Regions from separate parts of the Homo sapiens genome. Here all the other regions are linked to region 4. Evidence: promoter capture Hi-C in 16 types of primary human blood cells and fetal thymus (Javierre and others, 2016). All regions are on one chromosome and are shown on one strand. The core of a region is centred on a gene start or on the middle of the fragment in contact, and the rest is flanking DNA. Distances in the headings are between cores, read along the strand shown.

Region 1 (2,999 bases), core at 118-2,617, 240 kb before region 4:
TCCCATATGTTTTAAAACAGGGGTGTCCAATCTTTTGGCTTCCTTGGACCACATTGGAAGAAGAATTTTCTTGGGCCACACATAAAATACACTAACCATAGCTGATGGGCTAAAAAAAAAAATCACAAACAAATCTCATAATGTTTTAAGAAAGTCTACAAATTTGTTTTTGGTCTTTTTTTTTTTTTTGAGACTGAGTCTCGCTCTGTTACCCAGGCTGGAGTGCAATGGCTCAGTCTCGGCTCACTGCAACCTCTGCCTCCTGGGTTCAAGTGATTCTCCTGCCTCAGCCTCCCGAGTAGCTGGGATTACAGGCACATGCCACCATGCCCAGCTAATTTTTGGATTTTTAGTAGAGATGGAGTTTCACCATGTTGGCCAGGCTGGTCTTGAACTCCTGAGCTCAAGTAATCTGCCTGCCTTGGCCTCCCAAAGTGCTGGGATTACAGGCATGAAAGCCACTGCTCCCGGCCCAAGTTTACAAATGTGTACTGGGCCACATTCAAAGCCATCCTGGGCTGCATGTTGGACAAGCTTGCTTTAAAAGATCTCTAGATTACTTATAATACCTAATACAATGTAAAGGCTTAAATAGTTGTTATACTATATTTTAAAATGTGTATAAGTTTTTACTGTTGAATTATTTTAAATATTTTTCTAGGTTGCTTTAGTACCGAATACAGTGTAAATGCTATGTTTTATTGTTTTTAATTTTTTTCATATTAAAATTAAATTTTTAAACATGTTAACAATTTTCTGTATTTGTGTCAGGTCTTTAAAATTTATATTTTTATTTATTTTTAATTGACATAATAATTATACACATTTATGGGTTACATAGGAATTCTTATACAAATAATGTGCAGTGATCAAATCAGGGTATAATTAGAATATCCAAACCTTTTTAAAGAATATCCACAGTTGGTTGAATTCCTGAATGCAGAACCTGTGGATACCAAGGGCTGACTGTATAATAATTCTGTCATACCAAAAAATCTTCAGGTGTCCTTTTGTAGTTAACCTTTCTCCTTCACTCCCAGCCCTTGGCAACCACTGATATGTATTCTGTTCCTACAGTTTTGCTTTTTCCAGCACATCATATAAATAGAATCATAGCCCTTGAGTCTGGCATTTGAGATTCATCCAAGTTGTGTATATATCAGTAATTTGCCCCTTTTTATTGTGAGTGGTATTTCATAATGTGGATGAGCCACAGTTTGCTTATCCATTTCTGAGTTTAGGGGTATTTGGAGTGTTTCCTGTTTTTTACCCAACTTCCCTTTTCAGCTCCTACTTATAAGGCATGGCTCACCTATTTCCTCCTCATCAGCTTTTCCCAATGCTTCCCATATGCCCTTATGACATTGTGTTACAGTTTATTGTATACACTTTTCATGAAGTCAGGAAGGCAAGTTTATTAGTTCTCTTGATGCCCCTGGCTGTCATCCCCAACATCTGCTGCGGAGCCTAGCAGTCATATGGGTGCTCAAGCAATAACTGGTGAATTGAAAAGGCCTGGATTCCCTTTTCTCCAAGGCATCACCTCTTCAGGCTGTCATATGTAGAACCAGAGAGTTTTTTTTTTTTTTAAGGGTAAAATAAATTTAGAAAATGCTATATACTTTATATCCCTTTTAAAGATTATACATGACTAAATAAAGGTTTTGAGTCATACAGTAGAAAAATACTTTTAACTTTAATTTGATCCCATATTTCTCAGGTTTGTTTCACCATAAAATACCTAAACACATCCTGCAAAGCTAATATTCCTAAAGAACACACTTTGGGGAAAAAAAAATGCTAGAACCAACTAGATTTCTTCTGATCCAGCTAGGAACCCAAGATCACATATGCATTTGATGGAAGGAGATTTTTCTATACTCATAGAGTTATGTATGCATAGGTGTATGATCTTCAGCTTAAGGTAACAATAGTTAAAATGGAGCCAAATAAACTCCCATCAAATTTGTGCCTGTATGCTAAAGAAATGTGTTCATACTGAACTCTGCTGTACAGCAGAAGAGGGTGACCAAATAGCAAGATGTAATTCCTTCCCTTGTAATCCATTTCTGAAGTTCCCCTCTTGCCTTCCTAGAAATTTGATTTTCAAATTTTGTCTGTAGAGTTTTTGCTTGGAATTTTAAAAGGGTAAGAGAACATCACCTAATTTTATAGATGATTAGATTGAGGTATAAAGATAATAAGCTTTGTTCAAGGTATATAGTTGCAAGGCTAGGCCTAGATCTGAAACTGATTTTTTAGTTCCCATTTCAGTGCTTTCTTCCTGATAACCATTTGCCAGTGACTTTTTTTTTATTATTAATAAAGTATTTGTTATTGCCAGATGTGGTAGCTCGCACCTGTAGTCCTAGCACTTTGGGAGGCCAAGGTGGGAGAATTGCTTGAGCCCAGGAGTTTGAGTCCAGCCTGGGCAACAAAATTAGACCCCGTGTCTCAAAAAAAAAAAAAAAAAAAAGCCAGACATGATGGCATGTGTGCCTATAGCCCCCGCTACTCAGGAGGCTGAGGTGAAAGGATTCCTTGAGTCCAGGAGTCCAAGGTTGCAGTGAGCTGTGATCCTCCCAGTGCACTCCAGCCTGGGTGACAGAGTGAGACGCTGTCTCAAAAAAAAAAAAAAAAAAAGTACTAGTTATGTTGAACCTGGTAAACCAGTTTAAAGATTCCTTAATCTTTTACTGAAAATTGTGAATTTTTTTTACTCCAAGTAAGGAATAAAACTTTTTTTCTCAGAAAGTTTATCTATCTTAAATGTTAAATGTTTTTTCCCTTTGTGAACATACCACTGTGTCATCTGTAAATACATAATAATGTTGTAGCCCAAAGCCACGGGTAAAATATTTTTGTCCGTATCCTCCTGAAGAGATCCTGGAACATATTTGTTTGTGAAAATACTATAGGTTAAAATGGTTGGGCTAAGGGAAAGTTACAGAGGATTCAACATCTTGAATGAAAGTGATTTTCAAGACTTAAGAGACATT
Region 2 (3,011 bases), core at 264-2,763, 170 kb before region 4:
TAGCAAAGCAATCAGTAGTTATTAAGCCCTACTAGGTTTTCTATGCTTTTACTTAATTGTCTATCGTAGTCTTCTTAATAGCTTTGTGAAGCAGGTCTTAGTAACATTAACAGACGTGGAGAAAATGAGACTTAGTGGAGTTGAATAACTTGCCTGATGTAATACAACTAGATAAAGCTTGGATTTAAATCTAATTGATTCCAAAGTCTATCCTTCTCTACCATACAGTTTTGACCCTCTGTATCTGACATCCACGGCCACAGGCAACTATTGCCTATGATTATTTACTTCTAGCTTTTCCCTTAGCTAGCCTGTTTTCTTATAATCCTGCTGCTTTGCAGGACTGAATTCACCTACTCTCTCTGCACCCATTATGGAACTATATGTCTGCTCTTCTCTGGTGGTCCACAACCTGTCTGCTCTTGGAGCCCAAAGGAGAACTCTCATTAGTCACCTGATCCTGTGTGAAACTAACTTTGGGCATTGTGATTTTAGTGATTTCTCTGTGAACCTTGGTTCTGTGTCTTGGTATTAGGTCTCTTTATACACAGGAACCAGATGAGTGTTGTCTTCTGATGCCAAGCCTCCTGGCCAAGGTTTTATAGGAGCATATTAAGTGAACTGAGCATAAGGCTGCTTTTGACAAGAAGGGCCTGTCATCTCTAATTGTTGAGCATCAGCATATAAAGGGAGACTGAGCCAAAAGTTATATTACAAGTGGCAACTCCTTAGTTCAGAAGGGTATGTGAACTCAAGAGGAACTGTGTATTTCTTTGTTTCCCTCCCCATTTTTTTGTGCCTAGATACTCCACTATGAGCTACTGGCCATTCGTGATGCCTGCATCAAACTGGAAAAGGACTACCAGCCTGGGATCACTTATATTGTGGTGCAGAAACGCCATCACACCCGCCTTTTCTGTGCTGACAAGAATGAGCGAGTGAGTGAGGGACTGAGGCCTCCCATCCCCTCCTTCTGTCTCCCTTATCTTAATAGAGAAGAAGCCCTTGAGATAAAGGCTGGGGATTTAGTCCTTGTCCTATCTATCCTCCCTGGCCCCTTCCCTCCTCCTAGCTCTTGTGGTCCTTCCTCTGCCACCGCCTTCACTAGTGTCCACCTCCTCCCGTCCTTCCCTTATACTTCCTTTCCCTCCTCCTAGCTCCCTGGCCTAGACCCCATATATAGACCAGCTCCTAGAGAAGGGGAAGGGAACTACCATTTATTGAACTCCTCCTATGTGCCAGATACTGTACAAGGCGTCTTCCTCACAGCAACCCTGTGAGGTACGTATTATTATTATCTCCAATTTAACCTCAGAAAGGTTAAACGACTTGCTAAGATCACACAGCTAATAGGACTTGAACACAGGTCTGTGTGACTTTAGAAGCATATTATTTTAAGATTCAGTACCCTCAGGGAATAGCAACTTTGGCTTTGTTCTTGGGATTTTGGTGAAATCAGAGTAGAATTGAGCCAGGGTCCTGGTTAGGGCCAGGCAGGTCTTGGGATCTTGGTTGTGTTTGTCTCTATACAGATTGGGAAGAGTGGTAACATCCCAGCTGGGACCACAGTGGACACCAACATCACCCACCCATTTGAGTTTGACTTCTATCTGTGCAGCCACGCAGGCATCCAGGTAGCTGGGCTTTATCTTGTGGTTCCAATGGGTCAAAGATGAGTTGTTCATTCATATTGCCTCTAGAATGTATCAGTCATCACTGAATGACATCCAAATTAGGATTGCTCTCTTTTCTGTTTGTTCTGTTTTGTTTTGTTTTGAGGCGGAGTCTCACTCTGTCCCCCAGGCTGGAGTGCAGTGGCACAATTTCAGCTAACTGCAACCTCCACCTTCTGGGTTTAAGCAGTCTTCCTGCCTTCCCGCCTCAGCCTCCCAAGTAGCTGGGATTACAAGCATGCGCCACCATGCCCAGCTAATTTTTGTATTTTTAGTAGAGACAGGGTTTCACCATTTTGGCCCTGCTGTTCTTGAACTCCTGACCTCAAGTGATCCACCCACCTTGGCCTCCCAAAGTGCTGGGATTACAGGCATGAGCCACTGTGCCCGGCCAGGACTGCTGTCGTAATAAGCCCTGAGTACACTTGCAGGTTGCTTATAAGAAGAGTGCTTTATGACATTGGTAGTTTTGCATCTGCCTGTTCATGGGTGAATTATCTACCCAGCCATATTCTTAACAGTGATCCTGTTCCCCTATTATCAGCCATCTTCTCTGCCCAGCCTGGGACCCCTCACCTTCCTATCTTCCCAGGGCACCAGCCGACCATCCCATTACTATGTTCTTTGGGATGACAACCGTTTCACAGCAGATGAGCTCCAGATCCTGACGTACCAGCTGTGCCACACTTACGTACGATGCACACGCTCTGTCTCTATCCCAGCACCTGCCTACTATGCCCGCCTGGTGGCTTTCCGGGCACGATACCACCTGGTGGACAAGGAGCATGACAGGTGAGGCCTGGGATCAGGTTGGCCTCCTTTTTGCTTCAGCCTATTGTGCCAGATCTTCTTAACTTTCCTTGGGTAGAAGGAAATGAGTGCTGTCCAATTTGGTGTCATTGGGCTCGTCTGCCCAATCCTGGGTTGGGTTTCTCTCTTAAGTTGGTATGGGAATTGGCATCCCAGGGCTGGGCGAGGGAATTAGCAGCAGCTCTCAGTTCACCAGGAAGGACTTCTTTCATTTTTTCCTTTTCAGTGGAGAGGGGAGCCACATATCGGGGCAGAGCAATGGGCGGGACCCCCAGGCCCTGGCCAAAGCCGTGCAGGTTCACCAGGATACTCTGCGCACCATGTACTTCGCTTGAAGGCAGAACGCTGTTACCTCACTGGATAGAAGAAAGCTTTCCAAGCCCCAGGAGCTGTGCCACCCAAATCCAGAGGAAGCAAGGAGGAGGGAGGTGGGGTAGGGAGGAGTGTAGGATGCCTTGTTTCCTTCTATAGAGGTGGTGTAAGAGTGGGGAACAGGGCCAGCAAGACAGACCACCAGCCAGAAATCTC
Region 3 (3,061 bases), core at 414-2,913, 140 kb before region 4:
TCCAAATAAGTTCTACACATTGTGATTGATCGATATGTCTTTTAAGTGTCTTAATCGGTAAGTTTTCTCTCCTTGTTTTTCTCCTCTGCAATTTATGGGCTGTTTGTCCTTTTAGAATTTTTCACGATCTGGATTTTGCTGGTTCCATCTTTACAATTTAATTTAACATAATCCTTTGAATTTCCTGTAAACTGCTAGTGGATCCAAGGGCTTGATCAAATTCAGGCCATTCTTTTTGAACTTACTACAGTTGGGTTTTTGTCCCTAGCACTTGACTGGAATTGTTTTTATCAAGGTCAGCAAAGACTTAGCTAAACCCAATAGTTCCCAGATCTTCATTTTATTTCATCCACATCTAATGACATTTTCTTCTTGAAACACTGTTTTTCTCCATTTGGTTTTCAGGGTACCACTCTCTCCAGGTCCTCCTCCAACCTTGTTGGCTGTTACTTTTCCAGTTCCTTTGCTGTTTTCATTTCCCTAATTTCTAAATATTGGGAGTATCCTTGGGGTTAGTATTCTGTATCCATGCCACAGTCTGTCTGATCTCTAATCCAGTGGTTTTAAATAACACTTCTATGCTGAGGACACCCACATTTACACCTCCAGCCTGGACCTCTCCTCTGAACTCCACACTCATCTAACTGCTTACTATTCATCTACTTGTAGACACCTCAAATTTAGCATATCCTTAAAATCCTCTTGATTTCCCCTCCAAACTTGCTACTATCACTGAGTCTTTCCTATCTCAGTAAATGACACTTCTGTTCTTTCAGTTGTACAGACCAAAAAACCTTGAGAATGTTTCTCCTCATACCCCACATCTAGTCCATTTAACAATTCCTGTCAGGCCTACCTTCTAAATGTTTTCCACATCCACATCACTCCCCTAACTGTACTACTGTAGTTCTAGCCAACATTATCTTTCACCTAGACAGCCACATAGTCTGCTGACTGGTCTCCCTGCTTGTACCCTTATGTATAATTTTTCATACAGCAGCTGGAGTGATACTTAAAAAAAAATTTAAGTCAGATCATAACACTTTTTCACTCAGAACTCAGAGGGCTGACACTATCTAACTAACTTCAAGACTCACAATAAAGCTACTGTAATCAAGATAATGTGGTATTGGTGAAAGAAACAACTAATGGAACAGAACAGAGAGTCCAGCATGGCAGGTTACCATCCCAATTCTCCTACTTACTAGCTATAAAAATTTTAGGCAAATTATTTCAGTTTTCCTCATCTGTAAAATGATTCCTTCCTTTATAGGGTTGGTATGAAGATTAAATGAGATAATGCATGTAAAAGCACCTAGCAGGCCAGGCTTGGTGGCTCACACCTGTAATCCCAGTATTTTGGGAGGCCAAGGTGGGCAGATCAGTTGTTCTCAGGAGTTCAGGACGAGCCTGGGCAACATGGTGAAACCCTGTCTCTACCAGAAATACAAAAACTTAGCCCTGCATGGTGTAAAATAAAAGCACTTAGCACATTGCCTGAGACATAGTCAGAACTTGATAAATTTTAGAATTTGTGGATTTTCTAAGTTGATCTTGACAAGTTTCATAAGAAAGAGGCAGATCAAGTATTATTTTCATTTTTTAGATCAGGAAACAAATTCAGGGACAGTATTTGGTGACAGTCAAATGATTAGATAATTGGCAGAGCCAGTACTAAGGGCTAGTACGGAATTTGTACAGTATTACTTATCTCAGGCTAGGATAGGAAAGATTATGCCCTCTGAAGAGATTTTTAAAAAAACACAAAGCGGAATTTAAAAACAAATGATTCAGGCAGCATTTTAGTCTCTTTTCATCTACACTGAATAAAAGTTATTGTTAGCCCAATTTTTTATTCCTGATACAAACTCATTCTTTTGATATATTGTTGGATTTAATTTAACATTTTGTTAGGATTTTTGCATGTATATTCGTGAATTAGATTAGCTTATGATTTTCCTTTTTTATAGTGTTTTTGTCAGGTTTTAGTACCAGAATTTTTCTGGCATCATAAATTGTATTGGGGTGTGTTTACTTCTTTTCTGTTCTCTGGAAGTGTTTGTATAACATCGGTGTTATTTTTTTCCTTAAATGTTTGGTATAATTCTCTAGTGAAGCCATCTGGATCTGGAATCTTTTTGTATGTATGTGGAAGTATTTTAAATTGTGGATTTAATTTATTTGGAGGACTTTTAAGATTTTTTTAATGTAATTTTTAGTTTATTCAGATAATAGTTTATTAATTTATTGTTTGAATTTTGATTAACAAAGCTGTATTTTGAGCTTCAAAAATTTAGTGCTGGACATCACAGGTTTTCTTTAAATTTTTTTGATTAAAAAATGTAAAATATACAACCATTAAATTTACCATCTTAACCATTTTTGTGTATAGTCAGTAGTGTTCGGTACATTCACAGTGTTGTGCAGCCAATCTGCACAACTCTTTTCATTTTCTATAACTGAAACTATATCCATTTAACAAATCTGCATTTGCTCATATCTCAACTCCCGGTGACCACACGTCTACTTCCTGTTTCTTATGAAATTGACTACTCTAGGTACCTCATGTAAGTGGAATCATATAAATTATATAGTGTTTGTCATTCTGTGACTGGTTTTGTTTTTTTTTTTGAGACGGAGTCTCGCTCTGTCACCCAGGCGGGAGTGCAGTGGCATGATCTCAGCTCACTGCAGCCTCCACCTCCCAGGTTCAAGTGATTCTCCTGCCTCAGCCTCCCAAGTAGCTGGTGGCTACAGGTGCACACAACCACACCCAGGTAATTTTTTTGTATTTTTTTGGTGGAGATGATGTTTCACCATGTTGGCCAGGCTATTCTCGAACTCCTGACCTCAAATGATCCTCCCGCCTTGGCTTCCCAGAGTGTTGGGATTACAGGCGTGCCATGCCCATCTTTTTTTTTTTTTTTTTTGGGACAGAATCTCACTTAGCTGCCCAGGCTGGAGTGCAGTGGCACAATCTCGGCTCACTGCAGCTACTGTCTCCCAGGTTCAAGCAGTTCTGTCATCCCAGCCTCCCAGGTATCTGGGATTACAGGTGCCT
Region 4 (2,946 bases), core at 416-2,915:
TCACCTATTAGTTGTGAAGATTAAATGTTAATATTTTTCCAACCCCTAGAAATACTAGGCAATACCAGACAATACAGTACTAGACAATAAGACAAACATGATTTTTTTTCCCTTCTTTTTTTAAAGAAATGGTTGAATATTGAGCATTGCTTCTCTGGTTTTTTTGTGTTTTGTTTTGTTTCATTTTGTTTTTTGAGACAGAGTCTCGTTCTGTTCCCCAGGCTGGAGTTCAGAGGCGTGTTATCAGCTCACTGCAACCTCCGCCTCCCAGGGTCAAGTAATTCTCCTGCCTCAGCCTCCCGAGTAGCTGGGATTATAGGCGTGTGCCACCAGAGCATTGCTTCTCATACCCCAGTTACCTCTCTCAGGGTTGTGCCCTCTCCAAACATGATTATCATCCCTTTATCATTCCTTGTATGACCTTCAAGATGGGCAAAGTTGTTGGGCAAGACAGAATAGAAGAAATGTTGTAAACAACATTAACTATCCATCCATTGCTGGAGGGGACCTGCTGGGGAGTGCACCTGATTTTAATTTTAATTAATTAATCTATTTTTTGAGATGGAGTCTCACTCTGTCACCCAGGCTGGAGTGCAGTGGCACCACCTCAGCTCACTGCAACCTCTGCCTCCAGGCTCAAGTGATTCTCCTGCCTTAGCCTCCCAAGTAGCTGGGATTACAGGCACCTGCCACCACACCTGGCTAATTTTTGTGTTTTTAGTAGAAACAGCGTTTTACCACGTTGGCCAGGCTGGTCTCCAACTCTTGACCTCAGGTGATCCACCTGCCTCAGCCTCCCAAAGTGTTGGTATTACAGGCGTGAGCCACCTTGCCTGGCCAAATTTTGTATTTTTTGTAGAGATGGGGTTTCGCCATGTTGCCCAGGCTGGTCTCCAACTCCTGGACTCAAGCGATCCACCTGGTCTCGGCCTCCCAGAGTGCTGGGATCTCAGGCCTGAGTCGCTGCGCCCAGCCTACTTTTTCTATGTACTGTTCGTTTGCTGGCAACTACTATGTTTCTGAGGCTGACCTCGAAATCCTAGCCTCAAGCGCTCCTCCCGCCTGGGTCTCTGGAGTAGCTGGGATTACAAGCGTGAGCCACTGCACTTGGTTTCGTATTTTCTATCATGTCTATGCATACCTTTATCAAAATAAAATTGTTTAGGCCGGGGCAGTGACACATCTGTAATCCCAGCATTTTGGGAGGTTGTGATGGGTGGATCGCCTGAGGCCAGGAGTTTGAGACCAGCCCGGGCAAAATGGTGAAACCCTGTCTCTACTAAAAATTTTTTTTTTAATTTAGCCAGGTGTGGTGGCACGCGCCTGTGGTCCCAGCTAACTCGGGAGGCTGAAGTGGGAGAATCGCTTCAGTCGGGGAGGTTCAGGCTGCAGTGAGCCGAGACTGAGCCACAGCACTCCAGCCTGGGCGACAGAGCGAGATCCTGTCTGAAAAGACAACAAATGTTCATTTAATTTGTAAATCAAGTGAAAGCGCTGCCCTGATGCCCCCCACCTCTCCCAGGCTCGGCCGGCCGCCCCTCGCCTACCCTAAAGGCCTCCGGGGACGCCGCCCGACGCCGCCGCGGTTGCCAAGCGAAGCGCCCAGGCCGCGTTGGCCGCGGGGGGTTGGGGGGGTAGGGGAGGGGTGGTTGCCTAGCAACCGGTGGTGCCAAACACTGGAGCTCAGAGCGGGGGGCGCGGAGAGCGAAGCGGGAAAGGAGGTAAGGGAGCTAGGGAAGCGGGGGCGCCCCCTTCCTCCGCGCTGGACCGGGGTACTGATCTAAACCAAAGGCGATCATCCTGCGGAGGGGAAGAAAGGGGTTTGACGGGGAACCGGACTGACCCCAGCTCTTCCCACGGGGCTCTCCCTGTCCGGCCTTCCCCTCCAACAGTAGGCGAGGGCGGAGGGGCGGGAGGGCGTGGCGGCTACCAGACGGGGAGGGGGCCGCCCCGGGGGCCGCCCCCCAGCTCCCCAGTGCCAACAGGCACGCGTCCCTGGAGACAGAACAGGGCTCCTGCCCTTAGATCCCCCACGGGGACTGGCCCGCAGCCTGGGGAAGAAAGGAAAGGAAGATCAACAAGGCATGGTTGGCTGGGGGCAGGTGTGGAAAATGCATTAAGGGCAATTTTTTTCTGCCATCCGCCTACCCCCCAGGCATTTGGCACTTCACACACACTTCGAGGCTTCCGGGACTCCATTATTCCTTTTTACCTGCTCCAGGACCTGCAAGGTCCAGGGGTTTGTGTCCGCCTGGGGACGGGAGGGAGGGAAACTTAGTTAATACCTCACACAAAGTTGAGTAAAGCAAGGGCTGTCTCCAAGCAGGCTTCCAGCAGGACAGGGCTCAGAGCAAAATGGACAGGAACAAGTCCTGCGCAGGGGGCGTGTGATCCAGGAGGTCTCCGGAAAGGTCTCCCGCAGCAGTGTTTTCCCTCTGCAGGTGGTGTCTGTGAACAGGCCTAGGGGTTTCTGACCCTTCTGGTTTCTGTGCCATGGCCACGCTGAGCGTCAAGCCAAGTCGGCGCTTCCAGCTGCCCGACTGGCACACTAACAGCTACCTGCTATCCACCAATGCCCAGCTGCAGCGAGATGCTTCCCATCAGATCCGCCAGGAGGCCCGGGTGCTCCGCAACGAGACCAACAACCAGGTTGGGGATGGGAACTCAGCTGGGTGGGCAAAGGGATAGCCCCCAACCCCTTGACACCCTCTCTATCTGGCTCTGTCTCTCTCAGACCATTTGGGATGAACATGACAACAGGACTCGACTGGTGGAGAGGATTGATACTGTCAACCGGTGGAAGGAGATGCTGGACAAGTGTCTGACAGATTTAGATGCCGAGATCGATGCCCTGACACAGGCAGGGATCCAGGACTGGGTGCCCGGGGGCTGCTGCCGAAACCTCCCCTCCTTCCCCACAGCTAGGTTGAGAAGCCCTTGATGGGG
Region 5 (2,936 bases), core at 389-2,888, 180 kb before region 4:
TTGCAGGATGGAGCAACCTGTCACCATTGGACAGCTGCCTTAGAAATCTAATTTGTGTATATTGAGTTGTTCAGTATTCAGAAGAGCTCTATATATGGTCCTTTGGTAAATAATAATCTGTGCTACAATTTATTGTTTACTGTGTTCCAGAACTATACTCAGTCCTTTAAGTGCTTTATTTAATCTTGAGGCAACTCTTAGATTGTTACTATTATCCTTCCTTAAAATATGAAGGTCAGGCATGGTGGCTCACTCCTGTAATCCCAGCACTTTGGGAGGCGGAGGTGGGTGGATCACCTGAGGTCAGGAGTTCAAGACCAGCCTGGCCAACATGGCAAAACCCCATCTCTATTAAAAATACAAAATTAGCCGGGCATGGTAGCACATGACTGTAATCCCAGCTACTTGGAACGCTGAGGCAGGAGAATCGCTTGAACCTGGGAGGTGAAGGTTGCAGTAAGCCGAGATCGTGCCATTGCACTTCAGCCTGGGCAAGAAGAGCAAAACTCCCTCTCAAAAATAAACAAATAAATACATAAGTACAAAAATTAGCGAGGCATGGTGGCGGGTGCCTGTAATCCCAGCTACTTGGGAGGCTAAGGCAGGAGAATTGCTTAAACCCGGGAGGCAGATGTCTCTGAGCCGAGATTGTGCCACTGCACTCCAGCCTGGGTAACAGAGCGAGACTCTATCTCAAAAAAATAAATAAATAAATAAAATATGAGACCTGAGCCCAGATCTGGCTCTGGATCACAAGCGGTTGAATTGCCCTTTTTTTTTTTTTTTTGAGACAGGGTCTCACTCTGTCACCCAGGCTGGCGTTCAGTGGCGTGATCTGGGCTCACTGCAACCTCCGCCTCCCGGTTCAAGCGATTCTTGTTCCTCAGCCTCCTGAGTAGCTGGGATTACAGGCGCACGCCACCATGCCTGGCTAATTTTTGTATTTTTAGTAGAGACTGGGTTGGCCAGGCTGGTCTTGAACTCCTGACCTCAAGTGATCTGGCCGCCTTGGCCTCCTAAGGTGCTGGGATTGCAGGCATGAGCCACCATGCCCGGCCTGAATCGCCTTTTACAATGCACACGAATATTTTCTAATTTACCTATCAAATGATACTCAGGAGGAGAATACATGTATGCACAACGGATTTTGCAGTTCCCTTCCCCATGGCTGACAGCCAAGGTATCTTTCCTTATTGTGGGGCTCTGGGTACAGGGTGGACTGTACTCAAGCCAGAGCTACCTGTCCTTCTTGTTTCCTCAGGTCTGTAACATTGTGGCTGGGCAGCGCTGTATTAAAAAGCTGACCGACAACCAGACCTCGACCATGATAAAGGCCACAGCTAGATCCGCTCCAGACAGACAGGAGGAGATCAGTCGCCTGGTCAGTGGGCCTACTCATTTGCTCAGTCATTGGGGCCATTGGTAGCATAAATGTTTTAATGCCCCAGCAGGACCTTCCTTCAGGAGAACCCAAGTCTAGATTTGTTGCCTAGGACTGTATAAGGCTGCTTTTGCTTCTTGACCGTATAGCTACTTTGCTTTCTGTCTCTTTTTCTCTCCTGTATTACTTTGCTGTGTTATTCCCTCACTTCCCTCATCTTCCACTTTCTCTCTCTTTTTAGGACTATTCCGTACCAACCCCAGCTTCTCCTTAGGGTTCTCTCCTTGATACCCAGAGGGTGAGCAGTATTGCCAAGCTCCTGTTCTCCTGAGATTGCTCTCTTTTGTCCTGCAGATGAAGAATGCCAGCTACAACTTAGATCCCTACATCCAGGAATTTGGGATCAAAGTGAAGGATGACATGACGGAGGTGACAGGGCGAGTGCTGCCGGCGCCCATCTTGCAGTACGGCGGCCGGGTGAGCAGGGTCAGGGCCAGACAACATCTCGGGGCATATGGGGGTGGTTGGGTTGTATAGCCAGGGGCTTTTGCTCCCCTACCCACCTGACTCTACTGAGGCTCACCTAGGCGCCCCCTCTACCTATCCCCAGAACCGGGCCATTGCCACACCCAATCAGGGTGTCTGGGACATGCGGGGGAAACAGTTCTACAATGGGATTGAGATCAAAGTCTGGGCCATCGCCTGCTTCGCACCCCAAAAACAGTGTCGAGAAGAGGTGCTCAAGTAAGGAGGGTTCGCTGTAGGGGTGGAAGGGTGGGAAGGACCCTGGAGCTGCCTGCCTTCCTGTAGTCCACAGGGGCTGATATTGATCAGTAATGTGTTCTGTCTTGACTCTGCCTGCATTGTGCTTTCTGGCTCAAACTTCTACCAATTCTTTTTCTATCCATCTGTGATCAGGGGAAGTTAATAAGGAGCCATATCTATGTCAAAGATGATGATTTTAGGGCATGAATCTCCTGAGAGAGGCCTGAATTATTGTTATAATTATTATCATTGGTAATAAATAGTAGTAGTGATGACTGTAATGTTTACGCCAAAATTATACTTAAGTACCTAATTTATATTCTCTTATTTCATCTTTACAGTGAGTAGGTGGTGATATGTCCATTTTCAGGAGACTGAGGCTCAAAAGAGGTTAAGTAACTTGTCCAAAGTTTGCACATCATCAGGAAAGTGTCAGAGTTGGAAGCAAATCAGATCTGAGCTTCAAGACTTGTGTTCCTAATTGGAAACAAAATAGAGCAGCTTGTTTAGCTGGTTGTCAGGGCCTCTGTGCCACCGTAGCTGGGAGTAGATGGCACCAATGAGGAAAGTGTTATAGCCAAATGGTTTAAAGAAACCAGGCAGTAATGGCTTAAGAAGTCAACAACCCCTCACCTGGAGTCTTTTTTTTTTTTTTTTTTTTTTTTAAGACAGAGTCTTGCTCTGTCACCCATGCTGGAGTGCAGTGGCACGATCTTGGCTCACTGCAAGCTCCACCTCCCGGGTTTCACGCCATTCTCCTGCCTCAGCCTCCCGAGTAGCTGGGACCACA

What was found. Contacts are between HindIII fragments. The CHiCAGO score rates a contact against its expected background, and 5 or more counts as called.
Region 1: a contact is called between a fragment that was not itself captured here and the fragment with the promoter of TEKT2 in region 4, in 5 of 17 cell types (erythroblasts, megakaryocytes, M2 macrophages and 2 more). The highest score is 10.3, in erythroblasts.
Region 2: a fragment that was not itself captured here is called in contact with the fragment with the promoter of TEKT2 in region 4 in 4 of 17 cell types (endothelial precursors, erythroblasts, megakaryocytes and 1 more); the score reaches 6.5 in endothelial precursors.
Region 3: a contact is called between a fragment that was not itself captured here and the fragment with the promoter of TEKT2 in region 4, in 1 of 17 cell types (erythroblasts). The highest score is 5.4, in erythroblasts.
Region 5: a contact is called between a fragment that was not itself captured here and the fragment with the promoter of TEKT2 in region 4, in 3 of 17 cell types (endothelial precursors, megakaryocytes and erythroblasts). The highest score is 6.2, in endothelial precursors.

Annotation. Positions count from the first base shown.
Region 1 is chr1:35,847,063-35,850,061 of GRCh38, forward strand. All of the region lies in intron 15 of AGO4 (argonaute RISC component 4), which reads left to right. Among named protein-coding and RNA genes, the nearest start is that of AGO1, 35 kb to the right of the region's middle. RefSeq lists a silencer at 2,355-2,507. The HindIII fragment of the contact is 1,671 bases long and covers 533-2,203 here.
Region 2 is chr1:35,916,790-35,919,800 of GRCh38, forward strand. AGO1 (argonaute RISC component 1) reads left to right here. Exons shown (of 19, transcript NM_012199.5): 16 at 804-938; 17 at 1,533-1,634; 18 at 2,266-2,465; 19 at 2,710-3,011. The coding sequence ends at 2,818. Among named protein-coding and RNA genes, the nearest start is that of AGO3, 13 kb to the right of the region's middle. The HindIII fragment of the contact is 2,677 bases long and covers 176-2,852 here.
Region 3 is chr1:35,940,390-35,943,450 of GRCh38, forward strand. All of the region lies in intron 1 of AGO3 (argonaute RISC catalytic component 3), which reads left to right. Among named protein-coding and RNA genes, the nearest start is that of AGO3, 11 kb to the left of the region's middle. The HindIII fragment of the contact is 8,649 bases long and covers 1-3,061 here.
Region 4 is chr1:36,082,429-36,085,374 of GRCh38, forward strand. TEKT2 (tektin 2) reads left to right here and starts at 1,666. Exons shown (of 10, transcript NM_014466.3): 1 at 1,666-1,721; 2 at 2,442-2,649; 3 at 2,735-2,860. The coding sequence starts at 2,494. RefSeq lists an enhancer at 2,236-2,946. The HindIII fragment of the contact is 20,325 bases long and covers 1-2,946 here.
Region 5 is chr1:35,900,213-35,903,148 of GRCh38, forward strand. It overlaps AGO1 (argonaute RISC component 1), which reads left to right. Exons shown (of 19, transcript NM_012199.5): 9 at 1,262-1,381; 10 at 1,736-1,858; 11 at 1,992-2,125. Among named protein-coding and RNA genes, the nearest start is that of AGO1, 18 kb to the left of the region's middle. The HindIII fragment of the contact is 8,640 bases long and covers 1-2,936 here.